Linked DNA regions of Homo sapiens: regions 1, 2, 3, 4, 5 and 6 are each linked to region 7. Evidence: promoter capture Hi-C in 16 types of primary human blood cells and fetal thymus (Javierre and others, 2016). All regions are on one chromosome and are shown on one strand. Each heading gives the region's core, a stretch centred on a gene start or on the middle of the fragment in contact. The rest is flanking DNA. Distances are from core to core; before and after follow the strand shown.

The links. Contacts are between HindIII fragments. The CHiCAGO score rates a contact against its expected background, and 5 or more counts as called.
Region 1: a fragment that was not itself captured here is called in contact with the fragment with the promoter of SNAI2 in region 7 in 4 of 17 cell types (M2 macrophages, M1 macrophages, M0 macrophages and 1 more); the score reaches 10.7 in M2 macrophages.
Region 2: a fragment that was not itself captured here is called in contact with the fragment with the promoter of SNAI2 in region 7 in 4 of 17 cell types (M0 macrophages, M1 macrophages, M2 macrophages and 1 more); the score reaches 11.0 in M0 macrophages.
Region 3: a fragment that was not itself captured here is called in contact with the fragment with the promoter of SNAI2 in region 7 in 3 of 17 cell types (M1 macrophages, M0 macrophages and M2 macrophages); the score reaches 9.5 in M1 macrophages.
Region 4: a fragment that was not itself captured here is called in contact with the fragment with the promoter of SNAI2 in region 7 in 1 of 17 cell types (M2 macrophages); the score reaches 5.2 in M2 macrophages.
Region 5: a fragment that was not itself captured here is called in contact with the fragment with the promoter of SNAI2 in region 7 in 2 of 17 cell types (M1 macrophages and M0 macrophages); the score reaches 8.3 in M1 macrophages.
Region 6: a contact is called between a fragment that was not itself captured here and the fragment with the promoter of SNAI2 in region 7, in 5 of 17 cell types (M1 macrophages, M0 macrophages, endothelial precursors and 2 more). The highest score is 9.8, in M1 macrophages.

Annotation. Positions count from the first base shown.
Region 1 is chr8:48,560,703-48,564,296 of GRCh38, forward strand. The region is part of intron 2 of LOC101929268 (a long non-coding RNA gene); the gene reads left to right. Among named protein-coding and RNA genes, the nearest start is that of LINC02947, 44 kb to the left of the region's middle. The HindIII fragment of the contact is 6,044 bases long and covers 1-3,594 here.
Region 2 is chr8:48,450,097-48,453,219 of GRCh38, forward strand. All of the region lies in intron 3 of LOC105375821 (a long non-coding RNA gene), which reads left to right. Among named protein-coding and RNA genes, the nearest start is that of LINC02947, 66 kb to the right of the region's middle. The HindIII fragment of the contact is 4,299 bases long and covers 1-3,123 here.
Region 3 is chr8:48,528,346-48,531,631 of GRCh38, forward strand. No RefSeq gene overlaps it. Among named protein-coding and RNA genes, the nearest start is that of LINC02947, 12 kb to the left of the region's middle. RefSeq lists an enhancer at 1,711-2,274. The HindIII fragment of the contact is 7,462 bases long and covers 1-3,286 here.
Region 4 is chr8:48,485,442-48,488,615 of GRCh38, forward strand. No RefSeq gene overlaps it. Among named protein-coding and RNA genes, the nearest start is that of LINC02947, 31 kb to the right of the region's middle. The HindIII fragment of the contact is 539 bases long and covers 1,462-2,000 here.
Region 5 is chr8:48,508,599-48,511,933 of GRCh38, forward strand. No RefSeq gene overlaps it. Among named protein-coding and RNA genes, the nearest start is that of LINC02947, 7.8 kb to the right of the region's middle. The HindIII fragment of the contact is 4,761 bases long and covers 1-3,335 here.
Region 6 is chr8:48,466,247-48,469,765 of GRCh38, forward strand. All of the region lies in intron 3 of LOC105375821 (a long non-coding RNA gene), which reads left to right. Among named protein-coding and RNA genes, the nearest start is that of LINC02947, 50 kb to the right of the region's middle. The HindIII fragment of the contact is 2,850 bases long and covers 310-3,159 here.
Region 7 is chr8:48,919,762-48,923,181 of GRCh38, forward strand. It overlaps SNAI2 (snail family transcriptional repressor 2), which reads right to left and starts at 1,668. Exons shown (of 3, transcript NM_003068.5): 1 at 1,426-1,668; 2 at 135-680. The coding sequence starts at 1,504. It overlaps LOC107986942 (a long non-coding RNA gene), which reads left to right and starts at 1,796. Exons shown (of 4, transcript XR_001745895.3): 1 at 1,796-2,440; 2 at 2,929-3,003. RefSeq lists an enhancer at 1,779-1,858. The HindIII fragment of the contact is 2,868 bases long and covers 410-3,277 here.

The DNA.
Region 1 (3,594 bases), core at 831-3,330, 360 kb before region 7:
GCTGTTTTGGGCAGCTTTTTAATTATAAGCTAAATTTTGACCAATGTCTTTATTGGTTATAGGACTACTTGGATTGTCTATTTTGTCCTGGTTGAGTTTTGGTACTTTGTGGCTTTCAAGGAATTGGTTCATTTCTTTTAAGTTGGAGAATTTATAAGTGTAAATTTGTTCACAGTATTCCCTTGTTATCTTTTTAATGACTGCAGCATCTGAAGTTCTGAAGTGGTATCTTTTATCTTATTATTATTATTATTATTATTATTTTTTTTTTGGAGGGAGAGGGGACAGGGTCTTACTCTGTCACCCAGGCTGGAGTGTAGTGGTGCCATCTCAGCTCACTGCAGCCTCGACCTCCTGGGCTCAAGCAATCCTGCTGCTTCAGCCTCCTGAGCTGCTGAGACTACAGGCTCAAGCCACCATGCCTAGTTATTTTTTGTAGTTTATCTAGAGATGGGGATTTGCCATGTTGCCCAGGCTGGCAATCTTGTAATCCCAGGCTCAAGCAATCTGCCTGCCTCAGCCTCCCAAAGTGCTAGGATTAAAGGTGTAAGCCACCATGTCCAGACTTTCATTTCATTCTTAGTAGTTGTGATTTGTGTTTTCACTCTTTATTTTTGTCAGTCTTACTATGGGCTTATCAATTTTATTAACTTTTTTCATATAACTAGTTTTTTGTTGCATTGATCTTACCCATTGTTTTCCTATTTTCAATTTTATTGATTTCTGCTCTATGTTATTTTCTTCTTTCTGGCTCCTCTAGATTGTTTTTCATTCTTTTTTCTCTAGTTTCTTCAGGAAAGAATAGAAACCTTTTCTTATTTCTAATGTAAACATTTAGTGTTATAAATTTCCTTCTTATTGCTGCTTTAATTACATCCAACATCTTTTGATATATTAAGTTTTTTGTTTTCATTCTGTTATATGCTTTTTAAAAAATATCCCTTTAAGGCTTCCTTTATAGCCCATACATTATTTAGAAATTTGTTTGGAGGTTTTCCTGTTGTCTTTGTTACTGGTTTCTAGTTTGATTCCATTGTGGTCAGAAAAGATATTCTGTATCACTTTAATTCTTTCACATTTGTTGATGTTTGTTTTATTGCCCAAACATATGAACTGTCTTGGTAAATGTACCATGTACACTTGAGAAATATTTGTATTGTATTGTCGTTATGTAGCTTGTTCTATGTATGTCGGTTAGATCCTATTGGTTGACTTTATTGTTCAGTCCTGTATATCTTTGATGAATTTCTGTCTTGTAGCACTATCCATTGGTGAGGTAAGGGGCTGTCAAAACAATCAACTATAATTTTCTATTTGTATATTTCTTCTTTCAGTTTCATCTGTTGGTACTTCATGTATTTTGAGGTTATGTTGTTTATTGCATACACAATTAAGATAAATATTTCTTTCTGGTGAATTATCTTTATATCCATATAGACTCTTCTTTCTTGTTTCTAGGAATTTTCTTTGCTCTGAAGTCTACTTTATGAGATATTAATATAACTACTACTGGTCTTCAAAAATTTTTATGTTTATATAGCTTATCTGTTTTCATCATTTTCCTTTTGACCTGCCTTGTGTAAGAGTTTTTTGTAAGCAGCATATAATTGGGTCATGTTTATGCATTCTGATAATGTCTACCTTTTGATTTAGACAATGCACATTTAAGGTGATTATTGGTATGTTAGTACTTAAAAGTGGTATTTTATTATTTGTTTTCTCAGGTGCTTGATCTTCTGTGTTTCTTCCTTTTCTCAGGATTACTTGAATGTTGTTTTAAAATTCCAACCTGATTTATTTTTAGTGTTTTAATGTGTCCCTTTGTATAGTTTTTGTCATGGTTGCTCTGGGTTTTACAATATACATATATGACTTACAAAAGTTGATTGGTATCAATATTTTACCATTTTCAGCTGTGTGTGGAAATCTCACTTCTCTTTAGGTCTTTTTATCTTTCCCCTTTAACCATCATTTTGTTATGAATCAGAAGATATTATTTTTGATTCAATTATAAATATAACTTATAAAACTCACCAGGAAAAGGGTAGTCTAGTGTATGCACCCATGTGTACTCTTTGTCATTTCTTTTACTTTCCTGATTCTCAAAAATTTTTTATCATTTTCTTTCTGTTTGAAGTACTTCATTTATATAATATTTAAGGATTGACCTGCTCATGACAAATTATTTAGTTTTCTGCATCTGAGAATGTTTTCATTTCCCCTTCCCTCCTGAAGGTGAGCTTAGCTGGATATAGAATCCATGGCTGACTATTCTTTTCTCTCAGCACTGAAAAAATATTGTTTAGGGTTTGTTCAGCTTTTTGGATCTATAGATTGATATGTTCTTGACAGATTTGTGAAGTTTTTAGTTATTATTTCTTTAAACACTCTTTAATTCCCCACCCCCTTCCTTTTCATTTTGAGACTCCAGCGATTTGAATGTTGGCTCTTCTGTCTCAGAGGTCAGTGAGGGAGAATGTTTTAATTTTTTAAAAATATCTACTTTCTCTCTGCTGTTCATATGGAGTGAATTCTATTGTTCTGCCTTAATGTTCACTGAAGGAATGCTCTTCATCTCTGCTCTACTGTTGAGCCATTGGGCAATTTTTTTTTTTTGAGATGGAGTCTCACTCTGTTGCCCAGGCTAGAGTGCAGTGGAGTGATCTTGGCTCACTGCAACCTCCACCTCCCAGGTTCAAGCAATTCTTCTGCTTCAGCCTCCCCAGTAGCTGGGATTACAGGCACCCACCACCACTCCTGGCTAATTTTTGTATTTTTAGTAGAGATGGGGTTTCACCATATTGACCAGGCTGGTCTCACACTCCTGACCTTGTGACCTGCCCACCTCGGCCTCCTAAAGCACTGGGATTACAGGCATGAGCCACTGCGCCCGGCCTCCATTCGGTTCCTTTTTATAACTTTCTTGAGATTTACTTTTTCATTTGTTTCAATAACATTTTAAATTGATTGTTGAAGCATTTCCATGGCTATTGCTTTTACATTCTTGTCAGATAATTCCAAATTTGTATTAATATCACTGTTGACATCAGTTTATTGGCTTTTTAAATTCAAGTTGTGAATCTCCTAGTTCTTGATATGACAGGAGATTTTCAGTTGTATGCTGAACATTTTGTCTATTATGTTAGAAGTCTCTGAGCCCTATTTAAATCATATTTTATTTTAATTTTTTATTTTATTATTATCACTTTTTTAAGACAGAGTCTCACTCTGTCACCCAGGCTGGAGTGCAGTGGCGCAATCTCAGTCGGCTCACTGCAACCTCTGCCTCCCATATTCAAGCAATTCACATGCCTCAGCCTCCTGAGTAACTGGGATTACAGGCGTGCACCACCACACCTGGCTAATTTTTGTATTTCCAGCAGACATGGGGTTTCACCATGTTGGCCAGGCTGGTCTCGAACTCGTGACCTCTGGAGATCCACCTGCCTTGGCCTCTCAAAGTGCTGGGATTACAAGCGTGAGCCACCATGCCCGGCCCAAATCTTATATTTTAGCAGCAAGTCACCCAATTTAGGTTCAGCCCACAAGTTTTGGACTGTTTTTGTGGACTGTGGTTCTGATGGCAGCTTAATT
Region 2 (3,123 bases), core at 432-2,931, 470 kb before region 7:
GGTTGCTGGACCCATTAAGATCTGTAGCAATGAAAATAGTATCTATCTTTTGAATAAGATAAAGTTGCTATTCTGTATTTGTCTTAATTCTTTGTTCTCATTCATTATCTTGCAGAGCACATTCACCCTGTGTCCTAGAGACATTCTCAGGTGTTTAAGTCAGGGGTTGCCCTCCCATTGGGAATCTGAAGTACTCCTCTAGGGTGTCTTCTTCTGGCCCTGGTAGGAACAGATGCTTGAATGATCTATCTGGAGAAGACACCTGGGAAGAAGCCAACCCCTAAGAGAAGACTAGATTTCCCTTTTCACATACAGAAGGGGAACCTGCACTCTTGTGTAACAGGTGCTGTAGCTCCTGCAGGGAGAGGGCATCAGGTGAAGGGCAGCTTGCTCCCAGGGTGCCTGGCAGGTGCGCCGTCACCCTACACAACTGCTGCTGAATGCCCTGCTGGCCCCAGGGACCCCGAATGCTCCCCAGCAAGGCCTTCCTGCTCTCCTCTTCTAGGGAAGTCTGGCCAGAGCCAGCTGCAGTCATTTATGTGGAATGCAGGTACAATTCAACACGGGCAGCAGGAGCCCCCCAGGGTGCCTCAGATGAACGGCTAGTGGCTCAAAATTAGGAGACTTTCCAAGGGAAGAGAGGAAAGAGGACTGTGTCTGGATGAGGGGGAAGGTGTGAAACCAAGACCTGGCAGCCTAGGGATGTGGGGGCTGCCTGAGCTATGGGCCCCTACGGTCCTGGAGCCAGCCTGTTATGGGCCTGAGGAGCTGTGGGAGTGCAGGAATCTGTGTCCTGGTCACAGTTCTGACACTTGGCTGACATCTCTGTCAGCAGGTGGGGGCTGGGGGATTGCCTGGGGTGGGGAATTCCTACCCAGTCCATTTTTGAAATTGGTGCTCAGGGGCCCTGCTACTTGAGAGGCTGACTTCGGGGGACTCCATGTGACAAGAGGCGAGAGAACAGATGCCTTAGGGTGTGTGACCTTTGTGAAGCAGGCCCCATGAAGGTCACTCTGCATTTATTAGTACTCACAGAAATTGAGTTTAGACTCAGTGCTGTCTGACGGAAATAGAATGTGAGCTTCAGATTTAACATTAAATTTTTTGGTAGCTGCATTTTTAAAAAGGAAGAAAGGAGCAAGTGAAATTAATTTTAATTTTAATGGGATATTATTGTTATCCCAACATATCCAGAATATTAACCTATCAATATTAACCATGTGAAATTATTAAGGAGATACTTTGCATTTTTCTTTTCATACTAAGTCTTTGAAATCTGGTGTGCATTTCACACACAGAGCACGTCCCGGTTCACACCAGTCGCATTTCAAGGGCACACCCAGGGGATGAGGATGGGCTGGACCCTTTACATTTTGGATCTGACTAAAAATGAGGAGATGGGCTTCCAGAGACTGTGTGTCCAAACCACAAGCGACTAAACCCTGGTTACGCTGGGAGAATCTGGGAGACAGCTCATCAAGAAATGTTATCTGTCCATCATTACAGCAATCAAACCACGATACTGGATTGCCTCATTTGTGTAAAGTCCTCTAGGCCTTGTGTGTGTGTGGGAGGTGGGGCGGGGTGGGGGGGGTAGGTGCCTGTGCAATAATAAAATACAGCTCTGATAAAAGGTCTTAGATTGAACTAAAATGAGCTGAATGCCCACTACTAGGTTTATGAACTGTGTCTACACAGTTACACCTTCCTAGGCCAAGACAGGAGTTCTTTACTGGTTGACAAATCTTTCACCATCTTGTGTAGTATTTTTATCAGAAGATTACAGATATTTTCATTAAAATACCACACAAGGTTTAAAAAAATACTACATAGAAGGTTTAAGATGGAACACTTCGTGACGTTATTTCTAATATTTTTGTTACATTATGTAAATTTAAGACTCTCAATCTTGTTGTGAAAGACAGAATATGCTGGACAATTAAGGAGATGATTTATTTAGGCTGTTGCAGTAGGGGAGAAGTTTCATCAGTGAGGGCTCAGTGAGATTCATCATTCCCAGGGATCAACACTCACTCTTCCCTTTAATGTGACATTTACACTCACATTTCTCTTCATCATTTTAGGCATTTCTCTTTCAATAAGACTGGCCTTCAATGTATTAACACTCTGGACTGTGCCACCCCCTCTCAACAGGTGGTTGAACCGATTCACAGGAATACCACCAGCAAAAGTCCTGGTAGAGTGTTTCTCAGACCCACTTCACCTCACTCAGGAAGATGATGATTAACCTTGGTGAATATTGTTCACCAATGATGATCTTCATTCCTCTTGAATAAGAGGGGAGAATGACAAGGTTGAACTTTACCTTGTCCTGAAATACAACAATTGAAGGTCAAGAAATCCTCCTCTACCCTCAAAGTAAGTCATTACATAAGACACCTGAGCTTGTATGTTTATTGCAGCACTATTTACAATAGCGAAGATCTGGAATCAACCTAAATGTCCACCAACACCATCAACAGGAGACAGGATCCAAAAAAAAATGTGAGATATACATATACATACACATACACACACACACACACACACACACACACACACACACACACACACCATGGAATACTATGCAGCCATAAAAAAGAATGAAACCATGTCTTTTGCAGTAACACGGATGGAACTAGAGGCCATTATCCTCAGTGAAATAACTCAGAAGAATAAAGTCAAATATTGCATGTTCTCACAAATGTGACCTAGAAATGCATACCCATGAACCTACAAAGTGGAAGAATAGACCTTGGAGACTCAGAAGGGTTGGAGAGTGGAAGGATGGGTGAGGGATGAAATACCACCTACTGGGTACAATGTACACTATCTGGGTGATGGTTCCATTGAAGGCCCAGACTTCACCACTTTGCAATGAATGTATGTAAGAAACCTGCACTTGTACCCCTAAATATATTATAAATAAATAAGATATCCTCATCCTCTTCTACCGTTTTGTGATCTAAGAGAGAAATGGACAGTCCCACAGGACCCCCTGCCCTCCCATATTCCGGGATGAGACCCTCCTCTAGCCTGGCTCAGTGGCTTGGAAGACCTGGCTCCTCTCTCTTGTGAATCCCAGGAGACTCTGGACGACTCCCTGTTTAACTGCTTTAACAC
Region 3 (3,286 bases), core at 250-2,749, 390 kb before region 7:
AGGATTCGTCTTTCCAGACATCCTCACTCACCCTGGGAGGGCCCAGAACTCACACCTTTTCCCACGATTATGGGAAATGCATGTGAGAGGGGAGCCCCAGAACCCTTGATGAGCTGTGACTGCTCTTCTCTGTGGGCCACACCCTACAGTGGGGAAACATCCACACAGTGGGAGTATTAAATCCTTAAGTGGCAGGGGCCAAGTAGCATCACTGCATGGATGTGGACCCTGTAAAGGATGGCAGAATCCAAGCTGCAATCAGAAGAGCCTGACTCATGCCAGCCCGGGGCATCGGCTGGTGGATCATGGTATTCTCAGCAGTGAAACACACAGGAAACCTACTAAATTCTTACTCGAGCTGTATAAGCAGTTAAATTCTGGATCAAGCAAACTAAAGTCTAACTTGAACCATGAAAAGAGAGTCATGCCCCCTCAATCAATTCCCAGACTTGAGCCAGTTTACAGACTCAAACCCATTGAATGAAGGGGAGGTTGGGTCTCCTTGAACAAGGACCCTGGTATGCAGCCAAAAACTTACACTCCATCTTTCTTCCAGCCTTCCCTAAAGGAACTTACAGCCTTCAGAATGGGACTGCAACATAAGCCTTTTCCTAGTTCTCCAATCTAATGGCCATTAGGCTTCAGCTGCAACATCAGCCTTCTTGGGGTCTCCAGCTTGCCAGCCCACCCTGTAGATTTTGGACTTGCCAGCTTCCATAATTGCATGGGTCAATCTTTAAAATAAATTGCTCTCTCTCCCTCTATGCATATATACCTCCTATTGGTTATCCTTCTCTGGAGAACTCCAGTTAGTACAGGTATAGTACAGTCATTGTACACAGAGCGAGTGGATGTCACTGTCCACTCACCCTGGGGTTGCAAGTTCAGAGGGTGGTGATCTCTGTCTGATCACAGGGTGAGCTGTGTGAGCTGGGGACACTGTTCCTCATGTGCTTGGCATGGCCACTTGTGCTTTTGTTCTCTCTTTGCTCGTCCCACACAGGCCCAGACTCACTGCCTGTGCCCCTCCTATGGCGTGCTCATTCTCTGCCTCTGCACCTTCAGAGCTGTGTTCTGTGACACTTTGGAAAGCCCAGTTTCCCCATTCACCTCCTGGCCCCTTCTGACAGTCACTAACTAGTCTCTGTCCTCGTTCATTTTCAAACACTTTGCAGGACTCTGCTTCTCCAGATGCTCTTCTGTTTAACCTCTCTAGGCTCTAGTTGAACCCAGCTCTGTGAGCCACCCACTGCTGTCCACCAGGCTGTGTTTAAGATGTTCCCATGGCTTGCTCTTGGTGGGGTCCTCCCTCGCAGGCATTCAGTTTATCATCTGCTTGACTGTGGAATTGTAAATGTTAATGTTTTGTCTTTGTTCTTCCTCTACGTCTCTAAGGAGTACAGGCACCTAAAGTGCAATGCCTGCTGTTGACAGGACTCAAGTAGATGCTGAGTGGTGACACTTAAAAGTCCCCTTTTCTAGAATTCATAAAAAACAAGTGACTTCACCTGTCTGAGTTGTCATTCCTTGGTGCCTTGTTGAACTTTTAGCATCGTCACTGCCATACATGATAACTTTTCAGCGAGGTGCTTCCTAGCAGCAGGGCAAAAAATACTAAAGTCTGACTGTTTTCCCCCATGTCTTACTCCTTCATGCAAGCTCGTCTTTGACATCATGGTTCTTTCTTTGCAGAAGCTCTTCAAGGTTCTTAATGGTGTCTGTCAGCCTGTCTCCCTTCCTGCTGCATTCTGTGGCTTTTAACAAAGGCAGGCATTGGAATGCATGAATATTGAAGAGGTACACGCCGACAGTGTTACAAACACATCTTGAATTTTGAATTTTAAGTTAACATCCAGTAGAGCCAAGTTCTTCTGCATGTGTGCACCACCCATGAGCCTTAACACACGTGTAGATTTGTCTCATTACAGGCAAGACACAGGGTAGCTGCAGCACCTGGAGGCCCTGAGCTGCCCTGGGGCGATCACACCCTCCCCCATGCCACCCCAAAGCCATCAGTCTGCTCAGTCATGTAAATAGGGTCATACAGGTAGAAACCTCTTGATATTGGCGGTGGCTTCTCCTCCTCTTCCTCCTCCTCCTTCTTCTTCTTCAAGCTATTATTATTTTCATTTTAGGAAACAGAGATTCAAATAAATTAATTGTATAAGGTAACAAAATTCAGGGATGCCAGAGTTGATTCTGAGCCTAGTTCATTTTGAGTTCCAGTCTTACAATTAGAGACTATACAAATCTGTCCCCACACTGGATTCAGAGCATCTTTAAAATAATGAGATATTGTACTTGATAGATTGAAACTTACAATAAATATTATTTGCCTAGCAGCATACAGACATGGTTTGAAATATCATAAAATGGAGGAATTAACTTTGGATATTGGCATCTTCTGATTCACCCATGTGATTGAGGATATCAGTGGTTTGTTCCTTGTTGCTGCTGACTAGTATTTCATTGTATAGATGTGTCATAGTTTGTTTATTCATTGGTTAAAGGACATTTATATTGTTTTCTGTTTTTCATGATTATTACTAGAGCTGCTATGAATATCCATTTACAAAATTTTTGGTGAACATAAGTTTCCATTTCTCTAGAGCAGGGATGGAAATCTTTTTTTTTTAATGGTCAGATAATACATATTATAGGCTTTTCAGGTCACAAAACAACTCAAAATCGAGGCTACTATGCAGGAACTTTTATAACCACTTAAAAATGTTAAAACGATTTGAAGTTTGCACAAACCATAAAAAACAACAAAATGAAACAAAGCAAAAACAAGTTCCACTTGTTTTGTGAAGTTTTGCTGAAATATAGCCATGCCCACTTGTTCATGTATCTTTGTGTGGCTGCATTCTACAACCGGGGAGTTGACTTTCTGTGACAAAGACCTTGAGTCTAAAACATTTACCATCTGACACTTTAAGAAGTTTTCCAACTCCTGCTGTAAACACTGAGGAGTATATTTTTACATTTGTAAGAACTGCCCAACTTTTTCAGGGTGGCTGTGCCCTTTTACACTCTACCAGCGATGTATGAAAGACCCAGTTTTCCCCCATCCTCCCCTGCACTCAGTATTGTCAGCAGTTTTTGTTTCAGTCATTCTAATTTGTGCGTAGTGTTACTTTACCGTGGTTTTAATTTGTATTTTCCTAATGAATTATGTTGAACATCTTTTCGGTGGGCTTATTTACCATCTGTATATCCTCTGGGGAAATGATAAGTCTTTTGCACATTTTTATTTTTATTTTTATTTTTTTGAGATGGAGTCTCA
Region 4 (3,174 bases), core at 481-2,980, 430 kb before region 7:
TAATTTCTGTCTCTTTCTTGACATTTCCTATTTGGTGAAACAACATTCTCATACTTTATTTCAATTATGTATACATGATTTTCTATAGTTCTTTGAGCATATTTATAATGACTATTTAAATTTTGTGTGTGTGTGTGAGTTTTCCCTTCCAAGATGGCCGATAAGAACAGCTCTGGTCTGCAGCTCCCAGCATGATCGATGCAGAAGACGAGTGATTTCTGCATTTCCAACTGGGGTATCTATTTCATCTCACTGGGACTGGTTGGACAGTGGGTGCAGCCCATGGAGGGCAAGCTGAAGCTGGGTGGGGTGTTGCCTCACCCAGGAAGCACAAGGGGTTGGGGGATTTCTCTTTCCAAGCCATGACAGACCGTAACTGGAAAAACAGGACACTCCCACCCAAATACTGTGCTTTTCCTGTAACCAGCAGACCAGGAGATTCTCTCCCATGCCTGGCTCAGCATGTCCTATGCCCACAGAGCCTTGCTCACTGCTAGCGCAGCAGTCTGAGATTGACCTGTGAGGCTGCAGCCTGGCGGGGGAAGGGGTGTTCACCATTGCTGAGGCTTGAGTAGGTAAACAAAGCAGCCAAGAAGCTAGAACTGGGCAGAGCCCACCACAGCTCAGCAAGGCCTATTGCCTCGATAGACTCCAACTCTGTGGGCAGGGCATAGCTGAGCAAAAGCCAGCAGAAATTTCTGCAGAATTAAACGTCCCTGTCTGACAGCTCTGAAGAGAGCAGTGGTTCTCCCAGCATGGCATTTGAGCTCTGAGAACAGACAGACTGCCTCCTCAAGTGGGTCCCTGACCCCCATGTAGCCTAACTGGGAGACACCTCCCAGTAGGGGCCGACAGACACCTCATACAGGTGGGTACCCCTCTGGGATGAAGCTTCCAGAGGAAGGATCAGGCAGCAATATTTGCTTTTCTGCAGCCTCCGCTGGTGATACCCAGGCAAACAGCGTCTGGAGTGGACCTCCAGCAAACTCCAAAAGGCCTGCAGCTAAGGGACCTGATTGTTAGAAGGAAAACTAACAAACAGAAAGGAATAGCATCAACATGAACAAAAAGGACATCCACACCAAAACCCCATCTGTAGGTCACCAACATCAAAGACCAAAGGTAGATAAAACCACAAAGATGGGATAAACCAGAGCAGAAAAGCTGAAAATTCTAAGAACCAGAGTGCCTCTTCCCCTCCAAAGGATCACAGCTCCTTGCCAGCAACGGAACAAAGCTGGACAGAGAATGACTTTGACGAGTTGACTGAAGTAGGCTTCAGAAGGTTGGTAATAACAAACTTCTCTGAGCTAAAGGAGCATGTTCTATCCCATCTCAAGGAAGCTAAAATAATTGAAAAAGATTAGACGAATGGCTAACTAGAGTAAACAGTGTAGAGAAGACCTTAAATGACCTGATGGAGCTGAAAACATGGCATGAGAACTTTGTGATGCATGCACAAGCTTCAATAGCCAATTCGACTAAGTGGAAGGATATCAGTGATTAAATATCAAATTAATGAAATAAAGTGAGAAAAGAAGTTTAGAGAAAAAAGAGTAAAAGAAACGAACAAAGCCTCCAAGAAATGTGGAACTATGTGAAAAGACCAAATCTACATTTGATTGGTGTACCAGAAAGTGACAGGGAGAATGGAACCAAGTTGGAAAACACTCTTCAGGATATTATCCAGCAGAACTTCCCCAACCTAGCAAGGCAGGCCAATATTCAAATTTAGGAAATACAGTGAATACAACAAAGATACTTCTTGAGAAGAGCAACTCCAAGACACATAATTGTTAGATTCACCAAGGTTGAAATGAAGGAAAAAAACATTAAGGGCAGCCAGAGAGAAATGTCGAGTTACCCACAAAGGGAATCCCATCAGACTAACAGCAGATCTGTTGGTATAAACCCTACAAGCCAGAAGAGAGTGGGGGCCAATATTCAACACTCTTAAAGAAAAGAATTTTCAACCCAGAATTTCATATCCAGACAAACTAAGCTTCATAAGTGAAGGAGAAATAAAATCCTTTACAGACAAGCGAATGCTGAGAGATTTGTAACCACCAGGCCTGCCTCACAAGAGCTCCTGAAGGAAGGACTAAATGTGGAAAGGCACAACTAGTACCAGCCACTCCAAAAACATACCAAATTGTGAAGACCATCAATGCTATGAAGGAACTGCATCAATTAATGGGCAAAATAACCAACTAACATCATAATGACAGGATCAAATTTACACATAACAATATTAATCTTAAATGTAAATGGGCCAAGTGCCCCAATTAAAAGACACAGAGTGGCAAATTGGATTAAGAGTCAAGACCCATCAGAGTGTTGTATTTAGGAGACTCATCTCACATGCAGAGACACAAATAGGACCAAAATAAAGGGATGGAGGAAGATCTACCAAGCAAATGGAAGGCAAAAAAAAAAAAAAAAAAAAAGCAAGGATTGCAATCCTAGTCTCTGATAAAATAGACTTTAAACCAACAAATATCAAAAGAGACAAAGAAGGCCATTACATAATAGTGAAGGGATCAATTCAACAAGAAGAGCTAACTATCCTAAATATATATGCACCCAATCAATACAGGAGCACCCAGATTCATAAAGCAAGTCCTTAGAGACCTACAAAAAGACTTAGACTCCCATGCAATAATAATGGGAGACTTTAACACCTCACTGTCAATAATAGACAGATCAATGAGACAGAAGGTTAACAAAGATATCCAGGACTTGAACTCAGCTCTGCACCAAGCAGACCTAATAGACATCTACAGAACTCTCCACCCCAAATCAACAGAATATACATTCTTCTCAGCATCACATCACACTTATTCTAAAATTGACCACATAATTGGAAGTAAAGCACTCCTCAGCAAATGTAAAAGAACAGAAATCACAACAAACTGTCTCTCAGACCACAGTGCAATCAAATTAGAATTCAGGATTAAGAAATTCACTCAAAAACACACAACTGCATGGAAACTGAACAACCTGCTCCTGAATGACTACTGAGTAAATACCGAAATGAAGACAGAAATAAAGATTTTCTTTGAAACCAATGAGAACAAAGACCAATGTACCAGAATCTCTGGGACACATTTAAGGCATTGTGTAGAGGAAAATTTATAGCACTAAATGCCCACAAGAGGCAGGAAAGCAGGAAAA
Region 5 (3,335 bases), core at 21-2,520, 410 kb before region 7:
CAGGTTTCTCAATCTCAACACTATCAACATTTTGGGCTGGGTAAATAGTTGTTGTGGGCACTTTCCTCTGCACTGTAAGATGGTCAGCAGCATCCCTGGTCTCTACCTACCAGTTGCCAATAACACCCTGCCCAGTTGTGACAACCAAAATATCTCCAGACATTGCCAGTGTCCCTTGGGGGCAAAATTGCCCCTGAGAGCCAGTGGTCTAGGGCCTCCACATCCTCCCTGGGCTCCTGTGAAATGACAGGAGAAGCACAGGTGACAGGAGCAGAGAGAAGGAGTGGAGGATCACACAGGGAGCTTTGCCAGCCAGTGCTAAAAACTGTGTGTCTCATTTAACCCACATTCCATTGGCCAGACATAGTCACACGATGGTACAAAGAAGGCTGAGAGTTGCAGTGAAGCTGTGAAAAAATAGAAAACCCCTAAAAGACACAAGTAATATTTTTACTTAAAATGACAATGATAGACTGTATAATAAATGAATGTTCTGATTCTCTGCAAATAATATCTATCTTCACATATTTCTGAATTTTTCTTCCTGGTCAATTGCAGCTGATTTTTGGTGGAGATATATCTATATATACATTTTTTTTAATTGAAAAATTTTTAAGAAATGAGACAGGGTTTTGCCATGTTGCCCGGGCTGGTCTCAAACTCCTGGACTCAAGCAATCTGCCCACCTTGGCCTCCCAAAGTGCTGGAATTACAGGTGTAAGCCACTGCGCCTGGGCAGGCAAATATCATATATTGTGCGTGTATGTGTGTGCATGTATGTGCACACATGTACATATACAGACGTAAACGCTTTTCCCTACATAATGTCTCCATACAACGCAGTTGATAACTGCAGCAGAGACTGATAGGAGATGTAGCAAAAGAAAGCAAAGCAGTGGGTCCTCCATGGCTGGAACATAAACGGAAGGGATTTTAATCACTGCCTACTCACACATAATTGTTGCGGGAAAGCCTTTGAGACTTGTTGAAGGGGAGATTCTAGAGAGGGGAGCCATAGGCTCACTCTAGGTGACAGGTCCTGTAGTGATGGAGACCTTAATGTCTGCCCGTACTTGGCGAAGGTGGAGCGCTCTATCTACACTGTAAAAATCTGTTAAAAAGTGTGCTGGTAGCAGGAGAGAATTAACCAAATAAATGTGGTATATCTGATCTTATGTATTAAAATAATATATATGGTTTTGGTTTTTTTGAGGGAGACGTGGCTTGTAAAAACAGGTTTAAACATTGAACAACTGACAATGTTTACTGACTATGAATTTCATGCAGGCTATTGTACTATGTGCAGGGGAGGGGTACAAAGGAAATGGAAGTCATGGCCCATGTACTTGAGGAATTTACAGGCTAATAGATTACATACACATGCTAGGGAATAGGCAACATGTTGGCTGACAGCCAGCTGGAGATCTGTTTGCTCGTTCACTCTATCTTCCTATATTTTCTGAGCGGTATCTCACACCAGAATAAGCAGGCCAGTTTCAAAGAGCTCTTCTTCAATTAGATGAGTATTCTTGTGTCTTTTATCATAAATACCAGACCACTTAGAGATTAGGCATGGGTTTACATGGGCAGAAAGAGATGAGTGAAATACTTTTTGAGTAAATTAAATCAGTGTGGATTATCACTCTGGGTGCTATTGATTTTTCACCACTCTCTCTTACTATTCCCAGATCTATAAAGATCCCCCATAAGTCAGGTTTCTGCCAGAAACAGGTAACTTTAATTTCACAGTTTATTTTGCTCACACAACTATTGCTCAAGTCCCTGATGGGGTTTGTGGGCCGGAGGCCACTATCCCAGGCTGCTTCATTGAGGACAGGCCTGGGCTTCTGCTCTCCTGGGGAGCACAGTCTTTTTCTTAAGGGGAGGGATCTTTCCTGGGAGGAGAGGAAAATCTCCATATATGAAGTGGAGTCTTGAAGCCCTACATAACTCAGGGTACTGCCATTCTTCACCTTTGTTAAACAGGGGGAAAACCCACCCAACTCAGCTACTGAAGAATTCCTTCAGACGTCCCCTGTCTGTTTCCTCCCCACTCTTACCCGATGCTGACCCTAGGTAATAACTGATTAGTCAGGAGAGGTATAGGAAGGGTCCTGCAGGGCAAATGCCTCTGCCTCCCATACTGCAGCACCAGAACCATGGGGCCTTCGCAGAGCAGGGTCACTGGGCAGCAAGAGCTTTTAAACATATTTGGTTATTTTTGTTTGAACTCATGTTGGAGGAAAAGACCCAAGTGAAATAACATAATACCTATTCAGGTTAACACTGGCTGAAACTCTTTTTATTTTTAGCATGCGAATTCCTTCATTTCCCAGGTTTCCTGTAATGGCTGAACTTTTAGTGTAAGCTGATCAGTTCTCAAAAAGCTAACTGAAAAATAATCTGAAATAGAGCTCCTTTTCAAATAAACTAACAAGGACTTTTGGGCAAAGGTACTTACTTCATTTCATTTTAGTTAAATAGTGTTCTGTTTTTAAATAGAGGTGGGCTTGTGAAAAAAGCTGATTTACTGATTTCCTGGCCCTCCACAAAGTACCATTACATGCATTATCTCATTAAAATCTCATAGGAAAACCCTTGGAATAAGCACTTCTTAAAAATCTCTATGTATGAAGAAATGAGATCTGAAAGACTATCTTAGTCTATTTTGTCCTGCTGTAACAGGATACTACAGGCTTGGTAATTTATAAAGAACATAACTTTATTTCCTCAGTTCTAGAGGCTGTGAAGTCCAATATCAAGGTGCCAGCCTCTGGTGAGGGCCTTCTTGCTGCATCAAGCCATGGTGGGATGGCAAAGAGAGAATGAGGGAGAGCAAGAGATTGAACTCACAACCTCAGGGTCTTTAATAAATTGGCATTAACCCATTCATGAGGGTGGATGCCTCAAGACCTAAATACCTCCTATTAGGCCTCACCTCCCAACACTGTTGCACTGGAGATTAAGTTGTCAACACATGCTTTTTGGGAGGCACATTCAAACCATAGCAAAGATCTTAGAGCAAACTGCCAAGGTTACAAAGCTGGTACATCTAGGGGCCAGAACCTGAATCTAGGGCCACATACTCTGAGGTTGGTTCTTAATGCTCACAAAGCTAATGCTTTAAGTGGGGCCAATTAATGAGGTGGTAGCATAAGGATAGCTCAGGAATTAGTTGGTCATTTAGTTCTCCCCATCCTCCTTCTCTACTCAAGTTTCAAACCAAAATATATTTGGGGTGTATCTGATGTATATTTTTGTTCCCAAAAATTTCTAGTTGTCTAGCAGATGTATATATATATATTTTTTTTCTTCTTTTTTTTCATCAGGTCATG
Region 6 (3,519 bases), core at 485-2,984, 450 kb before region 7:
AAGCCCTACCTCAGGCTTGCTCAAACCAGCAGCATCACCAGAGGGCAGGCATCATCCTCTCTTCGCCCTCCTCATGGTACCCTGTGGCAGGCGTTATTGTTTCCATGTTAAAAATAAGAAAATGGAGCCCCAGGGCAGTAAAGTGACCTGGCTTGAGTGAAACCTTCAGGGTGCAAGTAAGCTTGGGTTTCTGACTCTGAGGCCAGCGCTCCCCCCACTCCGGGGAGTTTGCCTCAGGGAGGAAGACCTCCGCATTTAGATGACTGTGGGGAACAATGAAAGGACACCTCTGCCTTTCTGTAAACAGCAAGCTTGACATAAGTAACTCTATCTTGGAAAACTACTCCATCTTACATCTCAAAAGGCGTCGTGCCAATAGAGAAAAGATGTTCCCCTAATCAACAGAGACTGCACCTAACTAGACAAGGGCATGAACAGGCACACGCTTACTATCAGTCCTTGCCAGATGACTCAAGGGCCATAAAATGAGCAGAACTTCACTAGCTAACAAGACCCTCTGGGCAGATGCGCACTTAACCAGATAAGACATGACCCTTTACTATCAGTCTTCACCAGAGGACTCTGTGGCCATAAAATGAGTGAGACTTCATCAGGTAGACACTGCTGTGTTGGCAGACCCTGTCCTGCTGTCACTTGTGATGAGCACCTGGCATCTGCTGATGAAGCCTCTGCCCACATCAAAGCCTCTTCCTTGCAAGACACTGGCGTCCGTTGGGATCAGCCCAGGACACTCCCCTTCTCCTCGTCACTCTCCTTGGACTGCTTCATTAGTTCCTTTTCTGACCTCCTTTTCTCTTGATGTTGAACGTTACTTTGTTTGATGTGAAATGTTTAATCTATAACATTTATATATTGATTAAATATACTACTATGTATGGTTTGCAATATTGACTGACTTGTGGAGTGGCTTGAGCCTGTGTTTCCATAGGTGATACTAAGAATTGCCTCCTTGAGAACTCCAGGTAGTTTGTAGCTTTTATGATTAAAATAGCCTCTGTAAATTCTGACCTGTGGAAAGACATGTGTGGGCCTGGTTATGTCTCATCTTACACTGCTCATGACTGTTTCCCATTGGGTGAGGCAGACAGCAACTGTCACATTAGAGCAGAGGAAGCAGCGAGATTGTTTCTTTATCTAGAAAGTAATAGGGTGGCTAACATCCAAGAGGTGACCTTCCCATGGCTCTGGCCTGGTGGCTGGGGGGCGGGGGTGAGGGAATGCCAAAGAGGGGACATGCTCTTGGTGCCAATGAATGCCCAAGGCCAGTCTGATTGCCTGGGCTGTGCCTGTTACAAGCACATTACCTTGGGTGAAGTGTGGTGAGGCCAGATGCAGGTCAGGAATGACACCAGAAAGAATTTTACAGTTTGTTATTCTCATGGCTCCTTGGGGAGGCTCGGATAGGGTCAGGAGGCCCTGAATGAGGGGAGTGAGCTCAGGGCAAGCTCCCTTGTTGCAGTTTCTGCATGAAGGAGCAGGTGAGGCCAGGCAAGCAGGCTGCGGATTGGTGGGATTGAACAATGTCAGGGCTCCGGAGCAGTGGGGCTGTGCTGGGCTGTCTGGTATCTGTCCTGGGGTGATGAGGGCAGGTGGACAGTGGCCCAGAGTGGGAGAGCCCAACAAAGGCAGCCTCTGGGGATGTGGAGTGAATCTGCTCAAGAAGGGGAACTGACTGACTTCTAGCCAGGGCCTCAAAACTGGATCAGGGCAGCATTTCAGAATTGCGGCACCCTGCCCCAGCCTGGCCCCTGCTCACAAACTCCTGGGCACACCCCAGCCATACCACCTGCCCAGCTGACTCTTGGCTCCTTCTGGCTCCTGGGAGCAGAGTCTGACTGTGCACAAGGCCAGAGAGTGGAAGGGCCCCCACTGGGTCCAGCCTCAAAGCAACTGAAGAGGCTTCAAACTACTTGAAGTTAACTTCTAGCATCTCTTAAATATGCAAGAAAGGAAATAGAGATTTGGGTATTAGTCCGTTCTAATGCTGGTAATAAAGACATACTCAAGACTGGGTAATTTATAAAGGAAAGAGGTTTAATTGACTCACAGTTCAGCATGAATGGGCAGGCCTCAGGAAACTTACAATCATGGCAGAAGGGGAAGCAAACACATCCTTCTTCACATTGGTGGCAGGAAGGAGAATGAGTGCCCAGTGAAGGCGGAAGCCCCTTATAAAACCATCAGATCTCATGAGAACTAACTCACTATCGGGAGAACAGGATGGGGGAAACTGCCCCCATGATTCAATTATCTCCACCTAGTCCCTCCCATGATACATGGGGATTATGGGAACTACAATTCAAGGTGAGATTTGGGTGGGGACACAGTCAAACCATATCAGGTGTTAAGGAAATGAAAGAAAATTGTTTTCTTGAGGTGGTGGGTCAGGACTGAGTTGAATCCCCAGTGTGCAAGGTAAAGGCACCAACCTTCCAAATGACTGTCATGAGAACAGAATCCTTACCAGCTCTCACTGCCTGCTGCTCAGTTGTAAGCCAAGCCCTAAATGGGGTTTTCCATGCAGATTTAATTTACTTACCTGAGACTTACCTTACCTAAGGTTGCATGTGTCCGTTGCAGAGCCGGAAGTTCTGTCTCTAAGGTCCATGCCCTTCTCAATACACAACATGATTTCAAATGGTAAACTTGTCTTCCCTGAATCTCCTACTCCAACGCCTCCCAACTTCCTCTACCTCTGCTCCTAGCCCCAGTCATTGAGGGCTGTGCTGATTTTGACTTGGAAAAGTAAGGAATCAAAAACCATCACTTCAAAGGCTGACCATAAGGGCTGCTGTGAGGTATTCAGGGGGGACAGCATGAGAGCTTCTCCCCCTGGAAATGTTTCCCAGACTTTCCCAGAGAAGGAGCCCAGTAGACAGACGGACTGCCCCCCTTGGGGGATGTGCAGCAAAGTGAATTGGGTAGCCAGGTGCAAAGTCAAATACGTCTTGGAGGCCTTTGTGTCAAATCTTATAAAGGCCTCTTTGCAGTGATACTATTGTTTTCTGTCATGTCGGCTAATTATTCAGTAGATCAGGTCCTCTAGGAAGTAGTACTGTATTTATCCAATGACCTTGTGTCTTTCCATGATCCCTCAAGAAAACCTTTTTGGGCATAAATAACCCAGCATCAGATGAAAGCTTTTCTAGCACTTCCTGTGGGGCCCAGACCCAAGTATGTTCTCAGGAAGAAATCAATTACCTTCATTTATTCATGCTGCAATCATTTGCTCATTTGCTTGTGACTTCCTGTTGTGTGCCGGGCACTGTGCCTCCTAGTGAATAAGAAACACTGTCTGTCCCCAGTCCCTGGGACTAGTGGGCGTGTGGCATAGCCCAGGGTCAGGTGCGTGGAGCCAACGCGCCCACCAGTGCCGGCCTGCCTAGCAAGTCACCAAGGCCTCTTCAGGGTCTGGTTTATCTCAGCTGAAATGTACGGGAAAAGTAGACGTCAATCAGGTGGAAAAGGGCAGAGAGAGCACCGTCCAGGCAGAAGGGA
Region 7 (3,420 bases), core at 418-2,917:
AGTAGTCAGGAAGTAGCTATCAATGACTGTCCATCATTAAAAGCACTATGTCACAACTTCATGCAAATCCAACAGCCAGCCCAGGGCTTCATTGTATCTCAGAGTAACATTCCTGCCTATGGTTTTTCTCTTACCCGTGTGAGTTCTAATGTGTCCTTGAAGCAACCAGGGTCTGGAAAACGCCTTGCCGCAGATCTTGCAAACACAAGGTAATGTGTGGGTCCGAATATGCATCTTCAGGGCGCCCAGGCTCACATATTCCTTGTCACAGTATTTACAGCTGAAAGATTTTCTAGACTGGGCATCGCAGTGCAGCTGCTTATGTTTGGCCAGCCCAGAAAAAGTTGAATAGGTCTTATTGCATAAATTGCACTGAAACTTTTCAGCTTCAATGGCATGGGGGTCTGAAAGCTTGGACTGTAGTCTTTCCTCTTCATCACTAATGGGGCTTTCTGAGCCACTGTGGTCCTTGGAGGAGGTGTCAGATGGAGGAGGGGGACTCACTCGCCCCAAAGATGAGGAGTATCCGGAAAGAGGAGAGAGGCCATTGGGTAGCTGGGCGTGGAATGGAGCAGCGGTAGTCCACACAGTGATGGGGCTGTATGCTCCTGAGCTGAGGATCTCTGGTTGTGGTATGACAGGCATGGAGTAACTCTCATAGAGATACGGGGAAATAATCACTGGGAAAGAAAAGGGAGGGAGAGAAGATTAAGGCAAAAATAATTAAAAATAAATCCACACGCAAGTATACACACACTGGAAAGATATTTAGCAACACACACGTGATTTTCTTAGGAAGAAGATAGACCCATTTAGGAGGGCATACACACTGGTAAAATGTTTCATTTCCACCCTGGCACCTACGGAGTTACTGTACTTAATGCACACATAGGCTGACAGCTGCACGGAGCTATAGGTGCTCTGAAGTCAGACAGTGCAGCCAAGCCAGTGCCTTCGCCGTCCCCATTGAGGAAGGAGAGCCTCAACATTATTTTTAAACATACAGAAAAGTTGTTTTCCATGTTACGTATGGGCTATTTAGGTGTATTACGACCGTGAGTACAAAGATATGCCTGCATCAAGCCGCCTTCTAAAGGAAAGGAGACTTAGTGCATGAAAAACGCAGTAATTCAATCCTTATGTTGCTCATCTTTCACATACTCATTATGCATGTATACACAGGCTTTAGCAAACGAAGCTGCGAGATTTGAATGAAATGTTCCTTGTTAGTCAAGAATTTTAAAAGTTTTGAATTAAAACGAACCCTAAATGATCAAAAGAATGTAAGCTCCCTTTCAGGACACTGTTAAAAAGGAAAACAGTTGAATCTTTGGCTCTTTTGTAATGGTATTTGAAGGGTAATACGTAGATTCATATTTGCAAAGCTCTAGATACGTAGTTCTAGATATATTTTTCTCTTTTTACCTGTATGTGTGTCCAGTTCGCTGTAGTTTGGCTTTTTGGAGGCGTTGAAATGCTTCTTGACCAGGAAGGAGCGCGGCATCTTGCCAGCGGGTCTGGCGGGCGCCCGGCGCGGATAACGGTCCGGCGGGAGGACACGGCGGTCCCTACAGCATCGCGGCGGGCCAGGCTCGGGCAGGGGCCGTGCTCAGGTGCGGCAGACGGACGGGCCGGCGCCTCTGAAGTCACCCGGCTCCTTTACGAACTGAGCCCGTTTTGGCTGGGAGGGTTTTTTTTTCCTCTCTTTTGCAAGAAAGATCCAATCACAGCTGAGAGGTTCAGATTTCAGCTCCTCCCTCTGGGACAGCTGTGAACAGAGGAAGAATCTGTTGTCAGACTAAATTATTCTGGTTCAAAATGGGCTGTTTTTTGAGATTTCAGTGGAGAGGAAAAAAAGTGTTTAAGTATTTTCAAGAGAGGTAACCTCGCTCGGTGAGCCCCGCCCGCGATCCACGCTCTCTGGGAGCTAGGAGGGGCGCAGGAGCCGGGGTCTCTGCCCTGCCCGCCTGGCTTCCAGATGTGGTGCAGCGCCAGCGCGCGGGGACACAGTGTCCGCCAGGAGAAGGAAGGGCCGCCCTGCACCACACCAGGCCAGCCTCTGGTGTTAATGAGAGCCTATATTTGGAAGTGGCATCTGGAGAGGTTTGCCTTGCACAAAGACCAAATAATTACCTCTTGGCTTTTGAAAAAGGAAGGGGGAAGCGGGAAGACAAAGGCGCCTGTGAGCGCGGAGGACGCTCTCCTGGGACTCTGGCCTGGAGCGGGACTGCAGCCTTGCGTGCGGCGAGGGCGCTGCGCTACTCAGGGCTTCCGCGAAGCCAGGGGCAGCGCGGCCGCGTGCAAATTAAGTACTCATGTCACCGTGTTAGCTATGGTGGCTTGAAAGAAATGCTTTGTAGCCCTCTAAAGGCAGGCTGATCGGAAGAACTGGAAGATTGCAAAGATAAAAAGGAACTCTGGCAGAGAAGGGGGGCAAGAGGTAACTGTCATTTGGAACCACCGGACATTCTCTCACACTTTTGACAAGAGATCTTATCTTTTCATGTATTACAGTGCATCTTTTTTTTTATGGGAAAAAGGGTTGTATGGGTCTTTAGAGACAATTATTTTTATTTCTAATATTCCCCTGCTTTTATGTGGTGCTATTTTCATCAGTATAAAGCCATTAAAATCCATCTCAGTATCTACCAGTTTCCTGTATAATGCTAAAAAAGAAATTGAAGGATATTATTATGAATATAGATTGATTAAAGTTTTAAGAACCCAGTCTAGTAACTGCAAAAACACCTTTATTTTGTGTATGGTCTTCAATCTAAAAATACTTTCAGGTGGTTTATTTTAAATATAAAATTTCAAGCATATTTTAAAGCATCTCTGTCCATTGCAGACTTTTATCCCTATCTTTTGCTAAAAGAATAAGGAAAGAACAAATTCACATGAAGATCACCCTACTCTTGTTTCTAACAGGTGCTGGAGGAAAAAAGTGAAAAAGAAAATAACAGTGGTGATGTCAAGACTTGTCAGAGAAAAGTGCATTGTCAGGTTGCATAACTTCTTAATCTTGGAATGAGAAAACAAGAGTGTATGTGTGTTTGGAGGGTGAGGTGGGGCACTCACAGATTTCCTAAGCTAATTTCAATGATTATTCTTATTTCTTCCAACAGTCACTAATTTAAATGTCAAACAGAGAAAATAATTCAAAGGAATCCTTATGCTAATGGAACTGTACTTGCAGGAGAGAGGAAAATATGAATACATATTCGATTTCTCCACACACAAACTGGAACCTGGAGTAAAAGCCAGAGGCAGTTTTCTAAGCTTGCTACTCTATGTGAGGGTTTGTTCGGATGTAGGCACCTGGGTTTATGAGAGCAGGAGTCCTCCTTGCTTTTCACTCCATTTCCCACAAAACACACATTTTTGTTACAGATATAGCACAGTTGAGAAAACACATATCGC